Linked DNA regions of Homo sapiens: regions 1, 3, 4, 5, 6 and 7 are each linked to region 2. The links are contacts of gene promoters, found by promoter capture Hi-C in human tissues and cell types (Jung and others, 2019). All regions are on one chromosome and are shown on one strand. Each heading gives the region's core, a stretch centred on a gene start or on the middle of the fragment in contact. The rest is flanking DNA. Distances are from core to core; before and after follow the strand shown. Region 1 overlaps CTNNA1 (catenin alpha 1). Region 2 holds the start of PAIP2 (poly(A) binding protein interacting protein 2). Region 3 overlaps CTNNA1 (catenin alpha 1). Region 4 overlaps KDM3B (lysine demethylase 3B). Region 5 overlaps CTNNA1 (catenin alpha 1). Region 6 has its middle 30 kb from the start of EGR1. Region 7 has its middle 75 kb from the start of HSPA9.

Region 1 (2,700 bases), core at 124-2,623, 540 kb before region 2:
TCGATATTTTGGTATGTGTTGGTTGTAGTGTTTACCATCCCATCCCTTTCCCAGGACATAAACACATTGTGATCTCCATTCTCACTGTGCAGTACAGATTGTTATATATCTGCTATTTAAAGTGGAAATGAAAATCATTTCCATTAATGAAGATACCTGGGTGGGGGCAGATTGTATAATTTATCGAAGATAAGCTGTGTTTCTCTACTGGGCTGGCAAAAATATTTTTTCTGGACCTTAAAGGTAGAAAGGTTCTGGTGAAGAAGCTATTTAAAAGTATCCTTAGTATTATTTTGGGGAAGGAGATATAACTTTGCCCTATTTATTGAGGTTTTTGGAGGACTTTTACAGGCAGTAGAGATGTTTCCATAGCTGGATTTCTGAGCCATTACGTTGTGGTTGGGAACCTTTCTTTTGTAGTATACTGTAGAATTTTGGGATGTGACACTGTAAATGGGATAGATGAGGAAGATGACCAGTTCCTGAGAACTGGAAGGAATCCCAGCTTGACTTGAGAACTTCTTTAAAACAAAATGAAACAAAACAAAACAAAAAAACTGCTAAAAAAAAAATTTAAAAAAAGCAGTTGGAAAAACGTAAGGCACAGCAAGCTTTGGTTGTAGCTATTAGCACAAAAGGAACAATTATTACTACTTTCTGCACTATAGACAGTGGAGTGAAGGAAGCTCCCCTCATCCTTTACAGCTTCAGCATTTAAAATTAAAAGCTAACATTTCCTCTGTCCTTTAGGAAACTTGGTATCATGACTTTATTTCTAAAAAGGTAAGAAACAGCTGGTGTGTGGATAATGACATGTTCTAAATAGGTTTAAAAACTGGAAAAAGTAGATGGAAAAATAGAAGGGGGCACAGAAGTATTTGTTGAGCTTTGCATATATTATTTCATTTAATTTTCAAAACAACTGAGTAAGGTATGGGAGATGTGTACTCATTTTACAGAAAAGAAAACAGCTAGAGATAAAACAACCCAAAGTAACACAGCTGCCAAATATCGAAGCTGGATTTAGACCCAGTTCCAATACCTTATTTCATCTACACCAAGTAGTGTTCTGGGAGAGAAGTAGTTATATTCATTAACATTACTTCATAGCATTCTTTGTTTTAAAGGAGCAATGTAACAGGTTCAGGTTAAAACAAACAAGCCTTTTGTTTTTTTTATCCATCACCCAAATATTTTCCAAGCCTATCCTTTCCCCGTAACTTTATAAAGTTTGGTTGCTTTCAGGGGAATTTACTCATGATATTTGATGCTTCAAAAACTTCTTGATTTTGTCTTCTCCTAATAAAGAATTGTGGGTTTTTTTGTTTGTTTGTTTACTTTATAATTGCCCATTGTCTTTGTTTTAAACTCCAGAGGAACTTATTTTATTCCCAGCTCAGGAGAGAACATCAGGGGATGACAGATTTTATTTCATGGCAGATGGTACAGTAGTATTGAGCTCTCTTAAGTTTCATCTCCTTTGTTAGTAGATGTAGTGTAGTTGACTGGAAACAGCTGGGACAAAGTCAGGTTTTACAACCGTGCGATCTTGGATATAGTTCCTGTCTACCTCAGTTTCCCCAGTTTGCCCTTTTGTGTGCAGAGAGCACTTTTGATATCTTATAAATTTAAACTAACAGGTATCTTTTTAAATTTTTAATTTTTTTTATTAAAAAAAATTTTTTTTGAGATGGAGTCTTACTCTGTCACCCAGGCCACTGTGCCTGGCTAATTTTTGTATTATTATTTTTTAGTAGTTCTGGTCTTGAACCTCTGATCTCAAGTAATCCCCTACCCTCAGCCTCCCAAAGTGCTGAGCCATCGTGCCCAGCCTTCTGCCACATTTTGTTTTTTTAGACAGAGTTTCGCTCTTGTTGCCCAGGCTGGAGTGCAATGGCGTGACCTCGGTTCACTGCAACCTCTGCCTTCCGGGTTCAGGCAATTCTCCTGCCTCTGCCTCCTGAGTAGGTGGGATTACAGGCATGTGCCACCACGCCTGGCTAATTTTGTACTTTTAGTAGAGATGGGGTTTTGCCATGTTGGTCAGACTGGTCTCGAACTCCTGACTTCAGGTGATCCACCCACCTCGGCCTTCCAAAGTGCTGGGATTACAGGCGTGACCACCATACCTGGCCATCTTTTTTTATTTTTAGAGTTCTTTTAAGAGACATGAGAGATGGAGGAAAAAAAAGTTGTTGATTCCTTTTTACAATTTTTTTAAGCAAGGTTTTGAGCATGGGTTCTTTTTACATTTAATTTTGAAATGAAACTTATTAAACATCTCAAGTTAGTCTTAGTGTCATTTTTTTTTTTTTTGTAAGGATGACCATTCAGAAGTTTGAGGACCTCATTTTTAGCTGGGGGCTTATTTATATACTTGTTTATAGTTTTGCTGATGGAGAAAGTGTGAATATTTTAACCCATTATACAGTGTGTTTCTGATGTATTTTTTCATTACTAATACTTTATGTTAGCCATGAAATTAAGGATTTGTCATTAGGGCTGTGAGCTAAAATAAATTAGAGTAGATGTAGATGTATGTATGTATGTATGTATGTATGTATGTATGTGTGTGTGTATGTGTGTATTTAGAGACAGAGTCTTGCTCTGTCGCCCAGTCTGGAGTGCAGTGGTGCCATCTCGGCTCACTGCAACCTCTGCCTCCTGGGTTCAATCGATTCTCGTGTCTCAGCCTCTCCA
Region 2 (2,700 bases), core at 138-2,637:
AGTGAATGAAATAGCTCTGAAGAGGAACAACCCGGTTTCTAAATTCAAGCCTTCCCATGGAGGGAATTTTTTGTCTTAGTAAATACTACAAGCATATAGTTTTTAAAAGATTCAAATTTTTCAGGAGAAAAGGATAGTTATTTGCACCCATTTCCTAGTCGGTCATTTGCCCTCTCCAAAGGGAAGAAATTAGTTTGTGTCCCTTTTTCAAAGATAGTATCTACACATTTGAACATCCAGATTTGTAAAACACATACTCTCGGCCGGGTGCGGTGGCTCACACCTGTAATCCTAGCACTTTGAGAGGCGGAGGCGGGTGGATCACGAGGTCAGGAGATCGAGACCATCCTGGCCAACACGGTGAAACCCCTATCTCTACTAAAAGTACAAAAATTGGCCGGGTGTGCTGGCGTGCGCCTGTAGTCCCAGCTACTTGGGAGGCTGTGGCAGGAGAATCTCTTGAACCCGGGAGGCGGAGGTTGCAGTGAGCCGAGATGGCGCCACTGCACTCCAGCCTGGGCAAGAGAGCCAGACTCCGCCTCAAAAAAACAAAACAAAACAAAAAAACAAAAACATACTCTCTTCTTTACATTGCTTAGTGTCACTAGAAATATATCTTGGGGCTTGTCAACGATGACAGGAAGGAAGCATGGGTAAGAATAACTATGGGGCCAGTGCACCCAGGATCACGGACTACAAAATTCTTGAACCCGGAGGTCACACTTTTCTATCCTGTGTGGACAGGGCATTTCCTCCTTTAGCCACAAAGAAGTTGCACATGTATTTGTATTTTGCGTTTGCATCCAGCTTCAAAAAGTGTGTTTTTGTGCCTGCACATGTCTGAGTGCGGATGTTTGCATATCATTTAGTACGCCTCTGTGATTTCCCTTAGTTTATTATTTTTCTGTGTCAGGATCTTGACGTGACTCGGTGCATGTCGCTGTTTGTGTGACATTGTGTATCATTCTTGGGGTGTGTATGGGTATGTGTGTGCTATGTCATTACCTAAATATTACGTTTTTGGGGGGGTGTGTGATGTCTGTGAAAGTCCACGCCTGTGTATCTTGTCAGGGTGCTCTTCAGTCCCCAGCTGCCTCACTCATTGCATATCATCATTCTCGGAAGATGGGCGGGTGTGGGAACAGTGGTACGCCCCCATTCCTGCCTTCCAGAGAGAACGTGCGACAGCGTTCCTGCTACACCCGGCAGCCGGCCGTAGGGGCGCGCTGGAAAGGCTGCTGCGCGTGCACACGTGTGCAGCCTTGGAGACAGACTTCGGGGTCGCGCGTTCTCGCGCGCGCTCTCTAGTGGCTTCGGAGGGCAGAGCTGACAGAACAAGAGGGCGGGGTTGGCGGCGACGGAAGTGAAGTCACTTCCGGGCTGGGGTGTTTGTTTGGACTGGAGAAGGGAGGCGGCGGGCGAAGCGCACGTCGAGCGGGGGAGCGGCGCTGCCTGTGGAGATCCGCGGAGGCCGACAGGATTCGTTGGCTGCCGTCCCCGCTGCTGTGCATTGGGTGAGGGGTCCTCTCGGGCAGAGTGGCGACAGGGGTGCGGAGGTCGAGGGACAGCAAGTCGGCGACGGCAGAGGGGCCTAAAGGGTTCCCTGGGTGGTTGGCCACCGAGTCCATTGCGGCCTCCGTTGTTCATTGCCTCTTTCCACCAAGTCTGAGGGATGAGCTTGGGCCGACTTCGTCTCTGTCTTCTCCGAGACATGGCCGTCGCTTTTTTTTCATTGTCATTATTAATGATTTGGATCTCGCAGCTCTCTATCCGGGTCCTCAGTGGCGCGAGGGTTGCCGGGATAGCACTTTCTCCTGTTCCTCATTCTCCCGGTCCTTTATCCCTCCGCCGGGTACCCTTTCCCCTGCCCCCCTCCCACCGCCTCGGCAACAAAGCTTATTGTTTCTACCCACTTTACGCCTGCGCGTCGCCACGCGCAGCCCCTACTTGCTGCGCGTGCGCGCCTCAGCCGAGGCTGGGGTTTGGGGAGAGAGGGGCGGAGGGACTGGCGGGCTCTTGGCGTCTTGGGGGAACGCTGCAACCGTCGACGGGCCTGATCAGAAGATCGTCTTTCTCCCGTTTCTTCGCCATCGCTACCCCTTATTTTTGGTTGTATTGCAGCTCATGCCCTGGAAAAAAGAACCTTTGGGGTACTGGGAACCCTTACCCTAGGAGGGCGTTGAGTTAGATGAACTTTAAGGTCCTCTTACCTTTTAATAATTTTCTGTGCTTACTCTCCTCCTTCCCCACCATCGCCACCAGAAATAAATAAGGCTTGTGGTGAACTTAGGTCTTCAAAACATTTGTTGCAGCAGCCAGCAGTGATATTTTTTAGGGACTCCTAAAAGGGGTCTTACCTGCTTCCTTTTGTTTCTTTTTTCCCTGATTTGGCACCCGTATCAACTCATAAAAACCCCAAACTCTAGAAAGAATTTGGCTTCCAATTTGCCTTGGAAGGTGTAGCAGCTGACAGCCTTTGACGTTTATTTCAACGGAAAGTAGATGTTCATGTTGGGTGTGCTGGCTAATGTTGAAACGTGGTGGCATTGTTTTTTCACAGATTTCATTAGCACAGTTAGATCAGGTGTTGGTTTATATTTTCATTAAGTCGCTTTTGAAATTTCTTCTGGCGTAGGTTGTGTTTGCAATAAGTAAAAGTTCTCTACAATAATTTTTAATGAGACTCCACTATTTGCTTTT
Region 3 (2,700 bases), core at 145-2,644, 510 kb before region 2:
AGGTCTTTGAGGAAAGGAAGTCTCTAATTTAGACATAACAGGATAAATTTGAGACTGAATTATTTAGAAAACTTGATTAGATGTGTAAGATGAGGCAAATAGATGGAAATTCATTGTAAATGCATTTCTTTCTGAAACTTTAAGGTTAGAGATCAGTTTGTATGTGTGCGCACACGTGTATATATTTTAAGAGACAAAGTCTTGCTCTGTTACCCAGGCTGGAGTGCAGTGGCACAATCATAGCTCACTGCAGCCTTGAACTTCTGGGTTCAAGTGATCCTCCCGAGTAGCTGGGACTATAGGCGTGTGCCACCATGCCCAACTTATTTTATTTTTTTGTAGAGACAGGGTCTTGCCTCGTTGCCTAGGCTGGTGTTCAACTGGCCTCAAACAATCCTCCTTCAATCTCTCAAAGTGTTGAGATTACAGGCATAAGCCACCACACCTGGCTTGTTTGGCTTTTATTTTTTAATTTTTTTGTGGTGCAACAGTTCTAAATATCACATGGCAGTTTTATATTCTGCAAGTAAGAGGTAACTTTTATTTTCCTTGTAATTCTCATCTGATGATTTGAATTGCTAGTCTTATACGGGTTTACCTTTAGATGTTCAGAATAAGTTGTGTGAGCATGATATGTTTGTATTTGTGGTATCATACCTTATCATGCCTTGTTTGGCTACATAGCATTACTTCCACTGCTTTCTTTGAGGAGTGATCAACAGTAGGCCATCTTCTGTGGGACAGCCCCTTACCTGCTAAGAAGTATAACTTTCTTTCAGATGTTGGAATTTTTGTGTTAAATCTTGATATTACTAATAACACTTTTCTCACCTTGAATAAAGAAGGGAACAGAGATGAGTACTAACATTCGGTAATACTTTCTCTGCAGAAACAAATCATTGTGGACCCCTTGAGCTTCAGCGAGGAGCGCTTTAGGCCTTCCCTGGAGGAGCGTCTGGAAAGCATCATTAGTGGGGCTGCCTTGATGGCCGACTCGTCCTGCACGCGTGATGACCGTCGTGAGCGAATTGTGGCAGAGTGTAATGCTGTCCGCCAGGCCCTGCAGGACCTGCTTTCGGAGTACATGGGCAATGTGAGTTTGACAGCTTTTCTTTGAAGTAAGATATTTATGGATGAGGAGTTTTCTATAACATGTTGGATCTGAGATGTTTTCACTATAAATACCAAATATGTCCTTGACTCCTTGATTTTTGGGAGTAGGTCAGATTTTTAAAGAAATGGATAAATGGCTAAGTGGCTCTTTCCTCTCTCCAGCTTATTGAGAAATTTTCAACTTATAAAAATCATACAGTGAATACCTAGGAAATTTATCTGTATTCATCAATTAACATGTAGATACATGTGTAGGTGTGTGTATATATAAATGTATATGTATGTATGGTATATACACAAACATCCTTTTTTCCCCCGAAGCCTTTGGAAGAAAGTTGTAGACATTGTGATGCTTCACCTCTAATATTTTAGCATGCCTCTCCAAAGAATAATGACCTTCTATACCACTAAAGTTTCATTATCCCAAGTAGGTGGCTAATTTTGGGCAAAAGGGAATGTTGAAAACCTGCCTCCTCAATATTTATAGTTGTGAAAGTTTTTTCGTGAACCATATTGAATGTCACAAGAGTAGATAATTGCCAAGTAGAGTTACATAAAGCAAACTCTGGATAGTGTTTTTGAATTTTGAAGGTTTGTGCATAAAAACCCAGGCTATGAAATTTGATACCCACTTTTTTTTTAAAAGGCCATAGAAAATTCTATATTTGTTGATTTTTCTCTGTTGCCATATGTCTTTCTTTTTTTCCTTCGCTTATACTTCTTCTATTCTGGTTATTTAATGCTAGCTTAGGGTTCCTGTCATTTAGACCTTGGACCCAATATTTTACTGTAGCTAATTAGCAATAAATTAAGTAAAAATTATATGAAATCATTTTAAGGGGAAGAAGGACAACAACACAAATTAGTTGTCATCACTAGCGTTTTTTACCTGTTTAACACCTAAAAAAAAGATCTTGGTTCTTTCTCATTTGTTCGTTTGCCATACATCTTGTCTGTTCACTTACAGGCCTGTAAAAGTTAATGGGTGATGGTAAATCATGGTGGAATTCCTAGGGTGAAGATGAATGCCTTCCTCTGTTTATCTTGTCTCTACCATACTGTGAAATTAGTGATGCATATTGAATTTTTTTAAAGCCATTGCCCCCTGGGCATGATGGTTCAAGCCTGTAGTCCCAGCGTTTTGGGAGGCTGAGGTGGGTGGATTGCGTGAGCCCAAGAGTTTGAGACCATCTTGGGCAACATGGTGAAATCCCATCTCTACAAAAAATACAAAAGTTAACTGGGCATGGTGGCGCACGCCTGGTCTCAGCTACTCGGGAGGCTGAGGCGGAAGAATCGCTTAAGCCTGGGAGGTTGTGGCTACAGTGAACCATGGTCGCGCCACTGTGCTCCAGCCTGGGCGACAGAGCGAGAGTGTCTCAAAAAAAAAAGCCATGTTTTGATTATAGGCAGTCTACTTAAGAAAAATGAGATTAGAGGTTTTGTTAAATCAAATGGAAAAAGTGGTTTTTAAGTCACAGTGAAAATGTGGGACACATTTAAAAATCCATAGCTAAGATTGAACATTAGAAAATATTTTAAAAGATGGATATGTTGCAGAATGGCTCACAATGTTGCAGTCTTAAA
Region 4 (2,700 bases), core at 34-2,533, 950 kb before region 2:
CTGGCTTGACATGAGTTTCTCATCACCTTTTTATAAGAAAAGGATTTGGAATTTAATCATTTGAAGGAAAATGAAAGACTATCCAAATTATTTTTCATTCATGTGTGTATTTATTTTTAAAGGGTAACTTTAGGAGTGAAACATGAGCTACCCATGCTAGTTCCTTGCAGTCATGCAGGTATCAAGGCTCCTGGCCAAATCCTGCCTGTGAAGCAACAGCAGCACCTCAGGGCTGTGTCTGTTCTTTTTCTCTATTGTAGGGAGTAAGTTGAAGTCAATACTTACTGGTTAGTAGGAAGATAAAAGAAAAAAGAAAAGGAGTTTTATTTTTTAACTCTAAAATACCCTGAAGTAGTCTCTGTAGCAGAGACAGAGGCAAGCCTAGGTGGCCTGCTTGATTCGTACGTCTCTATGCTACTCCTCAAGGAAATCCTGAATGTTAACTCCTCTTGTGTATTTAAAGAATAGTTTAATTAAAACTCTCTCCCCTCTTTATAAGAGAATAGCCCTTTTGTTTATCGGGAATCACTTTTTTTTTAATTGTAGTAAAATACACATAATGTAAAACTTACGACTTTAAAATGTACAATTCTGTGGCATTTAGTACATTTACAGTGTTGCGAAACTATGAAGACTATCTAGATCCAGAAATTTCATCACCCCAAAAGGAAAACTCCATATCCATTAAGTGGTGATGGAATAATTTTTATTTCCAGTGTTTTAGAGTGAATATTAAGGTATATCATCCTCTACTACTTGAAAGTAATCTATGGTTAGCAAGTCAAGTACTAGGATCTGGGTTTTATTAAATTAATAAATATAAGTTTGGGCTCATACCTACCTATGGGTCTCTTCTCTCTCTCTCTCTCTCTCTGTGTGTGTGTGTGTGTGTGTGTGTGTGTGTCCCTTTCTCTTGTCTGTATCTGGGTACATTAATATATAGGAAAGTCCTTCCTTTTTTTTGTTTTTGTGAGGGAATCTTGCTCTGTTGCCAGGCTGGAGTGCAGTGGCACGATCTGGGCTCACTGCAACCTCCGCCTCCTGGGTTCAAGCAATTCTCCTGCCTCAGCCTTCCGAGTAGCTGGGACTACAGGCACGTGCCACCATGCCCGGCTCATTTTTTGTATTTTTAGTAGAGACAGGGTTTCACCGTGTTGGCCAGGATGGTCTTGACCTCCAGACCTCGTGATCCGCCCATGTCAGCCTCCCAAAGTACTGGGATTACAGGCATGAGCCACCGCGCCAGGCCCCATTCTTCTTTATACAGTCATTCACAAGCAGAAGTTAACATTTTGAAGGTAAAAGAAGGAAAGGGGAGTGTTCTGTTATTTCATTCTTCAGTTATGCTGAAGGCTTTTTTTGGGATATTGTCAGTATATACATTTATCCTCTTTGGATTCTTATTAGATTCTAATTATAACAAAGGTCTTGGTAAATAGCTTGCTTTCTTTAATTTAGCATCTTTACGTCTAACGTTAATTGAAGTAGATATTCAACTTGTAGGTTGACTTGAACCCATAAATAGATGCCGAAATCCAAAAGGGTCCATGTTGTGGACTTTCAGATTAATAAGGAAAACACTTTTCTTTAACGTGCAGTAGGCTTGTCCTAGGATTAAAGCCACTTTTTGTAAAATGGGCAATTTTACAGTAGCCTAAATAAATCAAAACTTTAACAATAGCTCCCAAGGTCATTGAGATATATTAATATTACAGGGGTCACTGTAAAAGCTGATGTCTATTCAGGAACCCTTTTCTCCAGTTCCTTAGAGGAGCTCTTCACTTCCAAATAGATACCAAAAAGCCTACAAGGCCTTCTAGCACTGTGACGACCAATTGGATAACAACCAAGGGAATTGCAGGATGAATGACATCCTGCTATCTCTGGTTCACCTTGCTAAAGATGCCCTCAGTGTAGTCTGTGGCAGATTTCTTCCCCACTGCTGGTGAACTCCAGTTACAAGAGCAGATCCATGGAATTGTAAAAGAGAAAAGTTGATGGACCCCCAAGAAATGTTGATCTGGTGATAGTGAGGTCCAAGAAAGAGATCATTAGATTGTCATGAGAAGCCAGCATCACTAATTCAGGCTATCTTCCTTTCAGAATTCAAGAAATTCTATTCTGGCCTCTTCTGGATTTGGAGCACCTCTCCCTAGTTCATCGCAACCTTTGACTTTTGGAAGTGGAAGGAGCCAGTCCAATGGTGTTCTAGCCACAGAGAACAAACCTTTGGGCTTCTCTTTTGGCTGTAGCTCTGCACAAGAGGCACAGAAAGACACTGATCTCTCCAAAAACTTGTTTTTTCAATGCATGTCCCAAACTTTACCTACCAGTAACTACTTCACTACTGTTTCAGAGAGTTTGGCTGATGATTCTTCTAGTCGGGACTCATTCAAACAAAGCCTTGAGAGCCTGAGCTCAGGCCTGTGTAAAGGCAGATCCGTTCTTGGAACAGACACTAAGCCAGGCTCTAAGGCTGGCAGCTCTGTGGACCGGAAAGTGCCTGCAGAGTCCATGCCCACCCTCACTCCAGCCTTCCCACGGAGCCTCCTAAATGCCCGTACCCCAGAGAATCATGAAAATCTATTTTTACAGCCCCCCAAATTGTCCCGAGAAGAGCCTTCTAATCCTTTCCTGGCATTTGTGGAGAAAGTTGAACACAGCCCTTTCAGTAGTTTTGCATCTCAGGCATCAGGTAGC
Region 5 (2,700 bases), core at 133-2,632, 560 kb before region 2:
AATCTCCACTAAAGCTCTCTGAAGAAGGCAGTGGTTGGTAGTCTTTTATGAGGGATCTAGTTCAAAGTTACGTTTTTTTTTTGAGATGGAATCTTGCTCTGTTGCCTAGGCTGGAGTGCAGTGGCATGATCTCGGCTCATTGCAACCTCTGCCTCCCAGGTTCCAGCGATTCTCCTGGCTCAGCCTCATGAGTAGCTGCGATCACAAGCAACCGCCACTACGCCTGGCTAATTTTTGTATTTTTAGTAGAGAGAGGGTTTCACCACATTGGCCAGGCTGGTCTCGAACTCCTGACCTCAGGTGATCCACCCACTTTGGCCTCCCTAAGTGCTGGAATTACAAGCATGAACCACCATGCCTGGCCAGTTTTCACCCAGTAGTTTTGACATTCATTGCTAATCCTTGGCTGGATCAGTTTTTACCAGTGGGGGTTGCAAGATGGTCATTTTCTAATTCTATTCTAGATTCATGGTAAAGAAATTCCCTCCCCATACCCTTTCTTTTGAGGATCCCTATGGTCTTAAGGATATTTATTTAATTATTTAGTTACAGACAGTTACAGTCATTATTCTCTTTGATAGTTGTCCTAAATTTGGCTGATGGGAGCCCTTGCTTCCTGTGTCTTTTGATATGATCTTGTTAGTCTTGTCCCCTTTCCGCACAATACAGTGCTTCAGACCTGGAACTTTGGTTTCTATTAATGGGAAATGGTCCGTTTTTTAAAAAAAAAATAAGTAGAAATGGGATCTCTCTGTGTGGCCCAGGCTGGTCTCAAACTCCTGGGCTTAAGTGATCCTCCTGCCTTGGCCTTCCAAAGTGCTGGTATCACAGGCATGAACCACCATGCAAATGGTATTTAATAGAAATAAATACTTGGGCACTGATAACACTGGTTTTTTTTTGTTTTTGTTTTTTTTTTGAGACAAGAGCTTGCTCTGTTGCCCAGGCTGGAGTGCAGTGGTGCGATCTTGGCTCACTGCAACCTCCACCTCCCAGGTTCAAGTGGTTTTCCTGCCTCAGCCTCCTGAGCAGCTGGGATTACGGGCGTGTACCACCACACTGGACTAATTTTTGTAGTTTTAATAGAGACGGGGTTTCACTATGTTGGCCAGGCTGGTTGTTTTGTTTTTTAATTTGCCAACATTGTTTTTAAGAGTAACATTGTAGCCCGTTGTGTCATTGTTACATAATTTATTGAGTGATCTGTTGTTTGAAATTTAGGTAATTTATAACTTTTAATGTTTATATAAAGCAGTGTTGTGAACATCATTGTATCCCAGTTTTTACATGTTCCTTAACTTTAGAATAAGATTTTAGCAGTAGATTTTCTGGGTCATACAAATGTACTTTTTAAAGATTTTATTTTATTTATTTATTTTATTTTTTATTTTTTTGAGACGGAGTCTTGCTCTTTCGCCCAGGCCGGACTGCAGTGGCGCTATCTCTGCTACTGCAAGCTCCGTCTCTGGGGTTCACGCCATTTTCCTGCCTCAGCCTCCCGAGTAGCTGGGACTACAGGTGCCCGCCACTGCGCCTGGCTAATTTTTTTTTTGTATTTTTAGTAGAGACTGGGTTTCACCGTGTTAGGCAGGATGGTCTCAATCTCCTGACCTCATGATCTGCCCGCCTCAGCCTCCCAAAGTGCTGGGATTACAGGCGTGAGCCACTGCGCCTGGCCAAGATTTTATTTTTTTAATTTTTATTATTATTATTATTTTTTAAGATGGAGTTTTTTTCTTGTTGCCCAGGCTGGAGTGCAATGGCACAATCTCGGCTCACTGCAGCCTCTGCCTCCCGGGTTCAAGCGATTCTTCTGCCTCAGCCTCCCGAGTAGCTGGGATTACAGGCGTGCACCACCAGCCTGGCTAATTTTGTATTTTTAGTAGAGACAGGGTTTATCCTTGTTGGTCAGGCTGGTGTCGAACTCCCGACCTCAGGTGATCTGCCCGCCTTGGCTTCCCAAAGTGCTGGGATTACAGGAGTGAGCCACCACGCCCAGCCTTTAAGCTTTTAAATGTCTACCAGCAGTTTGTTGTCTAGAAAGTTTATATTAGTGTTTACCTCAGCTTCATGCCTTTTCTTTTCTTTTTTTCTTTAATAATTGAAGGCACTACTTTTAGAAGAAAAGACTAACTGTTATTTTCGTTGATGTTTTCTCCCTATTCTTAAAGCCGCTGTCTGACAGAAGTTTCTCTTGACACTGATACAGTGATATTTGACTAAGTGTGATTTGAAATTTCTTCTGGCTATGAGTGATAATAGCTGTGGGTGCAGAGGGCAGCTGATTTAAACATTATGTTTTAATAGAATAAGACAAGTCCTTCTCTAGGAATCCATCAAAAAATGAAGTGAAGCATACCTTTTAGATACTACTGTACCATGAATGTTGTGGAGTAGGAAAAATCAGGATCTTCTGTATTCGTTTTTGAAGCAGTGTCTTTGAAAGTAGCTTTTGGCCGGGTGCGGTGGCTCACGCCTATAATCCCAGCACTTTGGGAGGCCGAGGCAGGTGGATCATGAGGTCAGGAGATCGAGACCATCATATCCTGGCTAACACGGTGAAACCCCGTCTCTACTAAAAATGCAAAAAAATTAGCCGGGCGTGGTGGCGGGCCCCTGTAGTCACAGCCACTTGGGAGGCTGAGGCCAGAGAATGGCGTGAACCCAGGAGGCGGAGCTTGCAGTGAGCTGAGATCCACC
Region 6 (2,700 bases), core at 180-2,679, 850 kb before region 2:
CCCTGACAGCCACCCGCCTTCCTGCTCCAGGAGGAGGGCAAGTCAGAGTGAGGAGGTGGGCTCCTTGCAGGGATGGGAGATCCCAGGCTGGAAACCAGTGAGCTATTTATGATTGAGCTTAGCCAAGGGGCAAGGTGTGAGGGGAGCTCCTGTAGGCTGCTACAGAATTTGCAGGAACCCCAGGCCTCTGCTTGGGTAGGGCTTTTATTCTCTTCTGTGTGCAGGGTCCTTGATTCTTTTTTTTTTGAGACGGAGTCTCACTGTGTCACCCAGGCTGGAGTGCAGTGGTCTGATCTTGGCTCACTGCAACCTCCGCCTCCCGGTTTCAAGCAATTCTCCTGCCTCAGCCTCCCGAGTAGCTGGGATTACAGGAATGCGCCACCATGTCCGGCTAATTTTTTTGTATTTTTAGTAGAGAAGGGGTTTCACCATATTGGCCAGGCTGCTCTTGAACTCCTGACCTTGCGATCCTCCCGCCTCGGCTTCCCAAAGTGCTGGGATTACAGGCGCGAGCCACTGCGCCCGTGTGGGGGCCTTGATTCTTTGAAAGCCCTATGAAACAGTAAGGGTCCTGGGCTATTCCCTGCCTTAAGAGAGGACCTATGCTCTAGTGGTCCTGGGGCTGGCTTTCGGGCCTGTTAGGAATACTGGAGCCTGGGATTGATAATCTTTCAACAACTGCCAATGTGACACCCAATAATACCACAGCCGCCTGTTATTTCCTGCATTTTTTTCTCATTGTTTTCCTGTGCTTGCTTCCTCCACAAAATGAGATTTCCAGACAGAAACCAAACCTTCTCAAGCTGGGCGCGGTGGCTCACGCCTGTAATCCCAGCACTTTGGGAGGCCGAGGCGGGCGGATCACAAGGTCAGAAGATCGAGACCATCCTGGCTAACACGGTGAAACCCTGTCTCTAAAAAAAATACAAAAATTAGCCTGGGTGACAGAGCAAGACTCCGTCTAAAAAAGAAACAAGAAACCAAACCTTCTCTTGCCAGTGGATTGGGTGCCACTTTTGTCTCCCGGCCCCACAAAACCCTCTGTGCTTTTAACCACCAAACCAGGGCTTTTTTTTTTTCTTTTTTCTTTTTTTTTGAGATGGAGTTTCGCTCTTGTTGCCCAGGCTGGAGTGCCGTGGCGCCATCTTGGCTCACTGCAACCTCCGCCTCCTGGGTTCAACAATTCACCTGCCTCAGCCTCCCAAGTAGCTGGGATTACAGGCGTCCGCTACCACCCCCGGCTAATTTTTAAATTTTTTTTAGTAGAGATGGGGTTTCACCATGTTGGCCAGGCTGGTCTAGAACTCCTGACCTCAGGTGATCTTCCCACCTCGGCCTCTCAAAGTGCTGGGATTACAGGCGTGAGCCACGGCACCCGGCCCATGGCATTTTTTCTTTGGCTGGGTTTGCCACTAGATTGAGCGCTCTTTATTGACACGGACTGTGTCTGCCTTGTTGACTACAGGTCCTCAAAAAACGTCATTTTATTCAGTTCAACGTCCTTTCCTTATAACATTGATGAGAAAAAAAATCAGTTTTCAGCTGGAGTTGTTTGGGTGGAGTTGGTACGTTCTCCCCGTGTCTGCATGGGCTTTCTCTGGGAACTCTGGTCTCCTTACACATCTCAAAGATGTACTCATTAGATGAATCAGCATGTCTAAATGGTCGCTGGATGAATGAGTGTGGGTGTGTTTGTGAGTGTGCCCTGCCGTGGAATGGCATCTTGTCTAGGGTTGGTGTTTTCCTTGTGCCCTGAAAGCTACTGGGATGGGCTCCTGCCACCTGAGACCCGCAACTGGAAGAAGTGGGGTGGAAAATGAATGAATGAATACAAATTATTGTCAAATAAAAATCTGTAAATATCCAATAATCATATGGTGCACAATGACAAACAATGCCATATGAAAGTGCTCAGCAAGCCTTCCATATTTGTGATTGTTTTTGAACTCAGGCAGGTGAAGCAGTAGGAGGTGCTCCTTGCAATTTTTGTTTTGCAAACATTTATTTCTTCATGTAACCCACCACCACAACATCCCTGATTCACCAAAAATTGAGTAAATAATCCTTGTTTTGTTTTTTTTTTTTGAGACAGTTTCGCTCTTGTTGCCCAGGCTGGAGTGCAATGGAGTGATCTTGGCTCACCACAACCTACGCCTCCCAGGTTCAAGCAATTCTCCTGCCTCAGCCTCCCGAATAGCTGGGATTACAGGCATGCGCCACCATGCCCAGCTAATTTTGTATTTTTAGTAGAGACGGGGTTTCTCCATGTTGGCCAGGCTGGTCTCGAACTCCCGACCTCAGGTGATCCACCCGCCTCGGCCTCCCAAAGTGCTGGGATTACAGGCATAAGCCACCACGCCTGGCCAATCCTTGTTCTTATGAATCTTTCTTAAATGTGTATATAGCTAACATTTTATTTATTTATTTATTTATTTTTTGAGATGGAGTCTTGCTCTGTCACCCAGGCTGGAGTGCAGTGGCACGATCTCGGCTCACTGCAAGCTCCGCCTCCTGGGTTCATGCCATTCTCCTGCCTCAGCCTCTGGAGTAGCTGGGACTACAGGTGCCTGCCACCACGCCTGGCTAATTTTTTGTATTTTTAGTAGAGACGGGGTTTCACCATGTTGGGCAGAATGGTCTCGATCTCTTGACCTTGTGATCTGCCCGCCTCGGCCTCCCCAAGTGCTTGGATTACAGGCA
Region 7 (2,700 bases), core at 32-2,531, 690 kb before region 2:
CAGGGAATGGAAGGTTCAGGAAGAGGCAGGCGGGACAGGGAAGGGAAATGGAGAATGTGTTTCCAACATCCCCTGGGTTTCCTCTGTCCCTGTCTCCTTCCCCCACTGAAAGAGGAATGGAGCTGGCTGGCCTTTCTGGGAGGCATAGTCCTCTAGCCTCCCAACCCTACCAGCCTCCTCTCTGTCCCCAACTGCTCCTTCTCTGGCTTCTCTCCAGAGCCCAGGGCCTCCCTGTGTCATCAGTTCATTATCATTCTGATAAAAGTCATTAGTCCTTGAAAAAGCATGATTCCCCAGCTGAGGCCAGCCCCCGCTAACCTGGGGAGGAATACAGATGGATGGAGATGTGGGGGTGGGGACAGACAGAGGCACAAACACAATGACACTTGTTTCCAGGAGGTGTGTAAATGGACACAAACCCACTGGTGCACACGGCCACACACCTTTACACACAGGCCCAGGGATGTCTCACATGGTCACCAGAGAGCCCACAGGGCTACATCACTGGAGGCACACTCAGCTGCTTCCAGTCCCAGAGAATCACTCGACACTGAGACCCAGCACCCAGCAGCCTCAGCCTCCTGGAAACACAGAAGCTGGGCTCCGCAGACTCTGGGGGCGGGGGCAGGGAGTGGAATATGGAGGCCAAGGTTAGAGATCTCCGAGTTCCATTAGCCACAAGAAGCGTGTCCGGAATCTAAAAGTGCAGGGACAAGGGCGCTGCAGAGCCGGTTCCTGACAGTGTGTCCCCATTTCCCACCCCTTCCACCACTGGGAAGCTCCTCCCTGTCAGCAAAGCCATTTAGGGATTAGAGCAGCTCCCTCAGTAAAAGCTGCTTATTCAAAAGGTGCTTTCAGTTCATTTGCATTCACTTCATGGATATTATAATGCGTGGAGGAGCTTCCTCCTCAGTCCCTCTTTGCTGTCCCCAGATTGAGTCCCTGGCCCATGCAAGGTATCAGTTTGGGCTGGGCCAAGCTTTCCAGTGACCTGGGGATCTTGTCAGGGAGTGGGAGGTGATAAACACTGACCATTAACCCCTGGTCCTCAGAAGGCAGCTCCGGGGACAGCTAGGAGGGGTCACAACTGGAGTTTTCCCAAGGGAGAGGAAGGAGGCCAAGGTCTGGAGAGGCCTCTCAATTCCCCCGGGGTCATAAGCCTGGTCTCCTAGGGAAGGAGGAATCTGCCCAGCTGCTGTCTGCAGATGGGGCTGCCACAGGGGAGCAGGCAGAGTCAGCCTCAGCTTTGAAGACCTTCTCTTTGGCAGCCACCCCACCCCGGCTCCATGCATTCAGTTCATTCAAAGAGTATTTAACTAACACCATGATGTGTGAAGCTTGATGCTAAGTAACTGGAATACAGTGTTGACCAGGCAATGTGGCCCCTGCCTTCACAGAGCTTCCACTCCAGGAGTGAAAACCCACAAAAAATGAAGACACAAGACAATATGGAATAATATGAATTATACCTAGTACCATAACAAACAGGGCGCTAAGATAGAAAGTAATAGGTCAGGGCCGGGGGACCGTCTTCAGATGGGGTGATCAGTAAATGGTGGACACATAACACACCTGCAGTTGAGGCTTCAGGGAGCCAGCTTCGCACGACTGCACTCCAGCCGGGGCAACTCTGTCTCCTAAAAAAGAAAAAAAAAAAAAGGAAGAAAGAAAAATTTCTTTCTTTCTGTGTGTGTGTGTGTGTGTGTGTGGTTTTTTTTTTTTTTTTTGAGACAGAGTTTTGATCTGTCACTCAGGCTGGAATGCAGTGGCACAATCTCGGCTCACTGCAACCTCCTCCTCTGGGTTTTAGGAGATTCTCCTGCCTCAGCCTCCCAAGTAGCTGGGATTACAGGCATATGGCACCATGCCTCGATAATTTTTGTATTTTTAGTAGAGACAGGGTTTCACCAGGTGATCCGCCTGCCTCGGTCTCCCAAAGTGCTGGGATTACAGGCATGAGCCACAATGCCTGGCCAAGAATTTCTTTCTTGATTTGTCCTTTTATCACCTCAAAGGTGCATCATGGGATTTCCCATCCCAGCTCAGGGGAAAGGCATGGCTGTGCCTCTTCATCCCCAGATCAGCCTATGGCGAGGCTGCCGTCTTTTGGACACTCCAGTGAACGTGCCCACCTGCCTGCTCTGGCACATCTGACAAGGCTGGAAAGAAGTTGCCATTTTCGGGGAGGGGTCAGTTTCAATGCCTTCCCACCAATTGGTCCGGAGCATGTCCACAGTTCTGTACACTGGGGAGCATCCAGTTCAGGCTTGGCTGAGTCAGGCAGATCCAGAGCTGCCCACCCCTCTCCCCAGGCCAGGGCTCCAGAGACCCTAGAGCCATTTCCAGCTTCCCTGCTGCTCCTCTCACCATCAATCAGGGGCTGGGATGTCAGAATCAGGACTGGGGGAAGCCACTCACATCCTGAACCACCCCCCAGGGACATAGGAATATGAGGCGAGGATCCTGAGCTCGAACATTTACAGGTAGCATTCAGGATTGAAAACTGATTTATAGTCTGAAGGCAGGCAGGAGGGAGCGGGAGGAAGGTGGGAGCTCTGTGTACAGTGCAGCCTTGTGGGGCGGCGGTAATTATATATTACGTTGAACTGTCCTTGCAGCACGGTGAAGGGCAGTGGGAATGAGACTCTAAATCACGCTTCCGTGATGCTCCCCATAGCTCACCTCCCTGTATGTGGCCCC

Evidence for each region. The method cuts DNA at HindIII sites, captures the fragments that hold promoters and counts their contacts. A contact is called where the count stands out against the background at its distance.
Region 1: a fragment that was not itself captured here is called in contact with the fragment with the promoter of PAIP2 in region 2 in 2 of the 25 tissues and cell types used here (dorsolateral prefrontal cortex and hippocampus).
Region 3: a fragment that was not itself captured here is called in contact with the fragment with the promoter of PAIP2 in region 2 in 2 of the 25 tissues and cell types used here (IMR-90 fibroblasts and mesenchymal stem cells).
Region 4: a fragment that was not itself captured here is called in contact with the fragment with the promoter of PAIP2 in region 2 in 1 of the 25 tissues and cell types used here (hippocampus).
Region 5: a fragment that was not itself captured here is called in contact with the fragment with the promoter of PAIP2 in region 2 in 1 of the 25 tissues and cell types used here (bladder).
Region 6: a contact is called between a fragment that was not itself captured here and the fragment with the promoter of PAIP2 in region 2, in 1 of the 25 tissues and cell types used here (aorta).
Region 7: a fragment that was not itself captured here is called in contact with the fragment with the promoter of PAIP2 in region 2 in 1 of the 25 tissues and cell types used here (dorsolateral prefrontal cortex).

What each region holds. Positions count from the first base shown.
Region 1 is chr5:138,797,324-138,800,023 of GRCh38, forward strand. The region is part of intron 3 of CTNNA1 (catenin alpha 1); the gene reads left to right. Among named protein-coding and RNA genes, the nearest start is that of CTNNA1-AS1, 45 kb to the left of the region's middle. The HindIII fragment of the contact is 5,540 bases long and covers 1-2,700 here.
Region 2 is chr5:139,340,467-139,343,166 of GRCh38, forward strand. PAIP2 (poly(A) binding protein interacting protein 2) reads left to right here and starts at 1,388. Exons shown (of 4, transcript NM_016480.5): 1 at 1,388-1,514. The HindIII fragment of the contact is 8,924 bases long and covers 1-2,700 here.
Region 3 is chr5:138,826,626-138,829,325 of GRCh38, forward strand. It overlaps CTNNA1 (catenin alpha 1), which reads left to right. Exons shown (of 18, transcript NM_001903.5): 7 at 890-1,093. Among named protein-coding and RNA genes, the nearest start is that of LRRTM2, 47 kb to the right of the region's middle. RefSeq lists an enhancer at 1,874-2,374. The HindIII fragment of the contact is 9,361 bases long and covers 1-2,700 here.
Region 4 is chr5:138,388,910-138,391,609 of GRCh38, forward strand. It overlaps KDM3B (lysine demethylase 3B), which reads left to right. Exons shown (of 24, transcript NM_016604.4): 8 at 2,104-2,700. Among named protein-coding and RNA genes, the nearest start is that of KDM3B, 38 kb to the left of the region's middle. The HindIII fragment of the contact is 4,652 bases long and covers 1-2,700 here.
Region 5 is chr5:138,778,815-138,781,514 of GRCh38, forward strand. All of the region lies in intron 1 of CTNNA1 (catenin alpha 1), which reads left to right. Among named protein-coding and RNA genes, the nearest start is that of CTNNA1-AS1, 26 kb to the left of the region's middle. The HindIII fragment of the contact is 5,060 bases long and covers 1-2,700 here.
Region 6 is chr5:138,493,911-138,496,610 of GRCh38, forward strand. No RefSeq gene overlaps it. Among named protein-coding and RNA genes, the nearest start is that of EGR1, 30 kb to the left of the region's middle. The HindIII fragment of the contact is 6,051 bases long and covers 1-2,700 here.
Region 7 is chr5:138,648,776-138,651,475 of GRCh38, forward strand. No RefSeq gene overlaps it. Among named protein-coding and RNA genes, the nearest start is that of HSPA9, 75 kb to the left of the region's middle. RefSeq lists an enhancer at 1,717-2,515. The HindIII fragment of the contact is 3,444 bases long and covers 1-2,700 here.